Regions from separate parts of the Homo sapiens genome. Here region 2 is linked to region 1. The links are contacts of gene promoters, found by promoter capture Hi-C in blood cells and fetal thymus (Javierre and others, 2016). All regions are on one chromosome and are shown on one strand. The core of a region is centred on a gene start or on the middle of the fragment in contact, and the rest is flanking DNA. Distances in the headings are between cores, read along the strand shown. Region 1 holds the start of SLC52A1 (solute carrier family 52 member 1). Region 2 holds the start of SPNS2 (SPNS lysolipid transporter 2, sphingosine-1-phosphate).

Region 1 (2,924 bases), core at 411-2,910:
CTCTGCTCCTGGGGATCCCAGTTGAAGTTCAGGCCCTGAGCCCCCTGTGGTTACAGAGGGTAGTGATGGCAACAGCAACAGGAGACCCCGGAAGGCGGCAGCTGAAGTGACCAGAAGGGCAGTCAGTGCCCAGAAGAAGGTGCTGGCAGGAAAACGCTCAGGGAAGTCGAGGGGAGGCCCAGAGGTGCCATTGGTGGGCGCTGGTGGGCACTCGAGGCGGCCCACACCTTGCACTAGGGCCAGCACACAGGGGAGTAGGGCACTGAGACCCTGACCCAGGAAGAAAGACCGTAAGAAAGGAGGTGGCAGGTGGCTCAGGAAGGGCAGGAAAGTGACATTAGAGGTACAACAGGCCATTGCCAACACCAAGGCCAGAGTTAGGAAGGCCACAGAGTGGAGCTGCCCTGCCACTGGGGCCACGTGGTGCCACAGAGGGGCCAGCAGGGCTGTGCCCACTACACTCAGCACCTGTACCACCTGGATGGGGACCTGCTCGCCCTTGCCCGGGGCCAGCTGCCTCCACAGGGTCACCACCAGCAGACCCAGGTTTCCCAGCGCCACAACCACAGAGAGGTATGAGGGGAGGCTCCAACCTGCAGGGAAGGAATGATGCCATGTCAGGAGCACAGTGGCTAAGGGACAAAGAGCTGCCACAGGCCACCTTTCTGGGCATACCTGCCCCACGCTTCCCTGTACCTCCCTCCCACTCACCCTCTGGAAGGTCTTTTACCACCACAGGCAGCTCCACCCAGATCCCGTTCACAGCAGCCCAGGAGCCCATGCCAAAAAGGGCCACCAGCAGGTGGGTCAGCACCAGACGGCCCAGCGTGGGTGCTGCCATTCAGCCCAAAGCTGGACCCTCCAGGACAGGGCAAAGGTCACAGGCAGGTCCTTCCCTAGGTAGGTCCAAAGATGCTTTGGTTCTTCTGGAAACTGAAGACCTTCTAGCTGGAGGGAAACAGACAGGCTGGCAGGTAATAGGCTGGTGGGACAGAACCGGAGTCAGAAGACAAGTCGGTCAGACTGCTAAGACCAGGGCAACTGGAGGGAGAGGTGGCCGGGGGCGGGCGGGGAAGGTGGGGAGCCAGGACTTACCACGGGGCACCGGCTGTGCGTTTGGGTACAGCGACCCAGCAGTGCCGGCAGGCAGACAGGCAGAAAGCTGGCCCGAGGTGCAGCTGCCCCAGAGGAGCAAAGAGGGAGCTGATTTTCCTACCCACAGAGGACCCGGGGTCCAAGTTGTCAAAACAGCTCAGCACTGGCCGGGTGCGGTGGCTCACACCTGTAATCCCAGCACTTTGGGAAGCTGAGGAAGGCAGATCGCCTGAGGTCAGGAGATTGAGACCATCCTGGCCAACATGGTGAAAACCCGTCTCTACTAAAAATACAAAAATTAGCTGGTCGTGGTGGTGGGTGCCAGTAATCCCAGCTACTCAGGAGGCTGAGGCAGGAGATTCACTTGAACCCGGAAGGTGGAGGTTGCAGTGAGCCAAGATCACACCACTGCATTCCAGCCTGGGCGACAGAACGAGATTCGGTCTCAAAAACAAAACAAAACAAAACAAAACAAAAAAACAGCTCGGCACCAACACGCTCACCCTCAAATGGACCCCGGGACAAGGGCACGTCTCTGGTGCCACTTGCAACCCTAGCGCTTTTGCGACACTCAGGACTTGCTGAGGCAGGTCGAGTTGGAGAGGGGAGTGGCTGGGGCGGGCTCTGCCCGGAGGGGCGTCTCCGTGCTGCCCTCCCGCCTGCCTCAGGGGGGCATCCCGGGAGCCGCCAGGTGCGCAGGGGTCCCCGCACCTCCGGATCCGGCAGTCCCCGGACCCAGCGGCTGGCGGTCTGCCTGAGAGGGAGCCCCCTCCGCCGGGGAGGCGGCCCAGCCCAGAGCCCACACAGCTGGGGTTTTGTTGTTTGTTGTTTTAATTAATTAATTAATTTTGAGACGGGGTCTCACTCTGTCACCCAGGCTAGAGCGCAGCGGTGCGCGATCGCGGCTCACTACAGCCTCAACCTCCCAAGCTCAAGGGATCCTCCCACTCAGCCTCTCCCCACCCCCCCACAAGTAGCTGGGACCACAGGCGAGCATCACCATGTCCAGCTAATTTTTTTTTTTTTTTTTTTTTTTTTTGGTAGAGACAAGGTCTCACTATGTTGCTCAGGCTGGCTTGGCACTCCTGGGCTCAAGCAATCTTCCTACCTCAGCCTCCCAAGTAGCTGGGACTACAGACGCACCACACCTAGCTACCGCCACGCTCAGCTGTTTTTACACTTTTTTTTTTTTTTTTTTTTTTTGAGACGGAGTTTTGCTCTTGTTGCCCAGGCTGGAGTGCAATGGCACGAGCCTCTGCCTCCCGGGTTCAAGCCATTCTCCTGCCTCAGCCTCCCGAGTAGCTGGAATTACAGGCGCCCACCACCATGCCCTGCTAATTTTTGTCTTTTTAGTGCACAGGGTCTCGCCATGTTAGCTAGGCTGGTCTTGAACTCCTGACCTCAGGTGATCCACCTGCCCCGGCCTCCCAAAGTGTTGGGGATTACAGGCGTGAGCCACCGTGCCTGGCCAGCTGTTTTTACACTTTTAAATGGTTGAAAAAAAATTAGCTGGACGTGGTGTGCACACCTGGCTAATTTTTGCTTTTTTTTTTTTTTTTTTTTTTTTTTGAGACGGAGTCTCGCTCTGTCGCCCAGGCTGGAGTGCAGTGGCGCGATCTCGGCTCACTGCAAGCTCCACCTTCCAGGTTCACGCCATTCTCCTGCCTCAGACTCCCGAGTAGCTGGGATTACAGACGCCTGCCACCACGCCTGGATAATTTTTGTATTTTTCGTAGAGATGGGGTTTCACCATATTGGCCAGGCTCGTCTCGAACTCCTGACCTCAGGTGATCCGCCCGCCTCAGCCTCCCAAAGTGCTGGGATTACAG
Region 2 (2,700 bases), core at 1-2,500, 540 kb before region 1:
TGATGCCAGAGCCTGGGGCAGCTCCAGCCCTGCCACAGCTTCACTGCCTGTTCGTAATGGGTCACGTCCGTGCCCTGGGACTTGTCTGTGAAACACAGGGAATGATTAACTGGTTTCCGAGGGTTTGTCCAGTTCTAACATTCTGTCCTCTGCACTTTATACAGGATTTTAATTTCGATTTTAATTCCCCAAACAGGTGAATGGGGGAGGGAAGGGGGAGATCGTCACAGAGCCACAGCACCTCTAAGGAGGGGTGAAACCGTGATGGGATGTCAGGAACACAGAAGCACCCCAACCACTCTCCATAGGAGGCAGACCCCCGCCCCGTCCCACCAAGGGGAGGTGACCACCCGTGGATTTCCAGACTGAATCCCATCCTGCCATCTGCCCCCAGATACAGAAATGGAGGCCCAGAGAGTGGGTGTCATGTTCAGGATCATGCCACACACCAGGGCAGAGCTGAGCTAGGACCCAGCCTCCTGTCTGCCACTGGGGGCTTTGTACCCTCTCTAGCACATACCTGGAAGTCTGAAGCTTGGAGATGTGGTCCCTCAGGAGGGAAAGCCCCTTCTGAATATCCTGTTTCTGTTGGGCCCCAATCACAGCCCTTGCTCTCCCCGCCAGGGGCTGCGGGCCACTCTGTGGGGCAAGGGTAGGGTCCGGGTGCCCACACAGGAATGGGCCCGGGGTAGGTTGGGGGCTGGATCTGGGTTGCCCTGGGGAGGTGGGAGACACAGCCCACCATGACTGGTGGAGGTCTAGGTTCTGGGCCCTCCCTGAACTGGTTAAATCCGGGCGTGTGAGTATCGGAGGAGCCACCGGCTCTCCAACTGGCGCCCCTGACTTTAGCCATCTGAGACTCCTCTCTCCAGTTCTCCCAGATACGCTAGGCTCAAGCCCTCAGCCCGGCTCCCAGAGCCTCCGCCGGGAGTCCACGCCCGAGGCAGGGGTTGGGTGAAGGGTACTGAGTAGGTGCTGGGAGCCCCGTCACCAGCACCCTGCTCCCAGCTCCGTAGCCAGAGCAAACCCTCTCCCGCTCCCCGCGGGCGTTCGCGGCCGGTCGGCCCCGGCGTGACTGCGCCCCCATTGGCAGGAGGGGCTCTGCCGCCCGGGCCCCCAGTCCCCGGGCCCCCCACCCCCAGGGCAGCACGTGCGGGGCGGGGCTGTGGCCCGAGCCCGGAGCTGATTGGGCGCGGGCCTGGTGGGCGGGGCCGGGCCGCAGCTGTCAGAGCCGCGGCGGCGAACGAGGCGCAGCGAGCTGAGCGGTGGCAGCGCCGCAGCCGGGGCCGGAGCGCAGGAGCCGACGGGGCCCGACCAGGATGGTGCAGTGGCGGCTCCGCGGCGCACGCACGCGCTGAGCGGGCCCAGCCTGGGCCCCGCGCCCCCCGCGCCCCCCGCCGCCCCGATCCGGGCCGGCATGATGTGCCTGGAATGCGCCTCGGCGGCGGCGGGCGGCGCGGAGGAGGAGGAGGCGGACGCGGAGCGGCGGCGCCGGCGCCGGGGGGCGCAGCGAGGGGCTGGCGGTAGCGGTTGCTGCGGGGCGCGGGGCGCGGGCGGCGCTGGAGTCTCGGCCGCGGGCGATGAGGTGCAGACGCTGTCGGGCAGCGTAAGGCGGGCCCCGACCGGACCCCCCGGCACCCCCGGCACCCCCGGCTGCGCAGCTACTGCAAAGGGCCCCGGCGCTCAGCAGCCCAAACCGGCCAGCTTGGGCCGCGGGCGGGGGGCAGCCGCCGCCATCCTCAGCTTGGGCAACGTGCTCAACTACCTGGACAGGTACACCGTGGCAGGTGAGCGAGTGCCCCACCCAGCCCGAGGACCAAGACCCCACCCCATCCCACCACCCGCCTCGAGGGAGGTACCCCAGAGAGCTTTTGGTCTCAGGCCTGCTATCTCCAGGCCCTACGTGAGGTCCCTACGGACCCTCTGCTCAGGCACAACTGGGCAAGGGATGCCTCCGTGCACCACGGGTACAATCCAGCTCCCCGCTCATACACACCCGGGGCCAAGGGATAGAGGAGTCCCCACCCCTGGAGCAGCCCGCGCGTCCTCTCCAGCCCTTGACGGCCCATCCGTTGTCCTCCTCTCCAAGAGTCTCCTCTGCGTCTCTCTGTCTCCTTGTCTCTGCGCCCCCTCCGACCCCAGCTGCCGGTTCCCGGGCCTCCTTCCCTTCCCTTCCCCCAGCCCAGGTCGTCTGTCCGTCCATGGCCCGTCAGTTCCTTCCTTTCTCCGCCGCCTCCACCCCCCTGCGTGCGTGCGGCGAGTGCGCGCGCCCCTTGCGGGTGTGCGCTAGGGAGACCGGGTGTGTGTGCGCGTGGCGGCGCGGTTGTGTGTGAGCGCGTGGCTGACAAAGGCTCCGGGCTGCGGGGAGCGGAGGGAGGGGCGGGGCGGGTCCGCGGCGCCTGGGGACCCAGGCTGCGGTTTGCAGCTGGCCCTGTACAGAGGCCTGGAGACGCCTCCCCCTGCTCTATGGTGCTTGGGGTGTAGGGTAGGGCGCAGGCCTCTGGAGCTAGAGACGTGGAGCCTCATCCTCAGGGAGCATCTCTGGGAATCAGCCTTGGGGACGGGATTGGGATCGATAGAACAACTGGGTTCTAGCCCCAGCTTTGCTCCTAATGTGCTTGGTGTGTGACCTTGGGCCAGTCTCAGCGTGTGTTTAGGTCTGTTTGCCCGTTTGTGAGTTGATTGATCATTGGGCCTTTG

The links. The method cuts DNA at HindIII sites, captures the fragments that hold promoters and counts their contacts. A CHiCAGO score of 5 or more calls a contact.
Region 2: a contact is called between the fragment with the promoter of SPNS2 here and the fragment with the promoter of SLC52A1 in region 1, in 2 of 17 cell types (neutrophils and erythroblasts). The highest score is 9.6, in neutrophils.

Annotation. Positions count from the first base shown.
Region 1 is chr17:5,033,766-5,036,689 of GRCh38, forward strand. SLC52A1 (solute carrier family 52 member 1) reads right to left here and starts at 1,661. Exons shown (of 5, transcript NM_017986.4): 1 at 1,096-1,661; 2 at 712-948; 3 at 1-593. The coding sequence starts at 841. All of the region lies in intron 3 of LOC105371501 (a long non-coding RNA gene), which reads left to right. The HindIII fragment of the contact is 18,376 bases long and covers 1-2,924 here.
Region 2 is chr17:4,497,631-4,500,330 of GRCh38, forward strand. It overlaps SPNS2 (SPNS lysolipid transporter 2, sphingosine-1-phosphate), which reads left to right and starts at 1,251. Exons shown (of 13, transcript NM_001124758.3): 1 at 1,251-1,787. The coding sequence starts at 1,418. It overlaps SPNS2-AS1 (SPNS2 antisense RNA 1), which reads right to left and starts at 1,105. Exons shown (of 3, transcript XR_001752763.2): 1 at 521-1,105; 2 at 1-85. RefSeq lists silencers at 1,044-1,103, 1,114-1,263, 1,324-1,373 and enhancers at 1,415-2,050, 2,051-2,685. The HindIII fragment of the contact is 9,610 bases long and covers 533-2,700 here.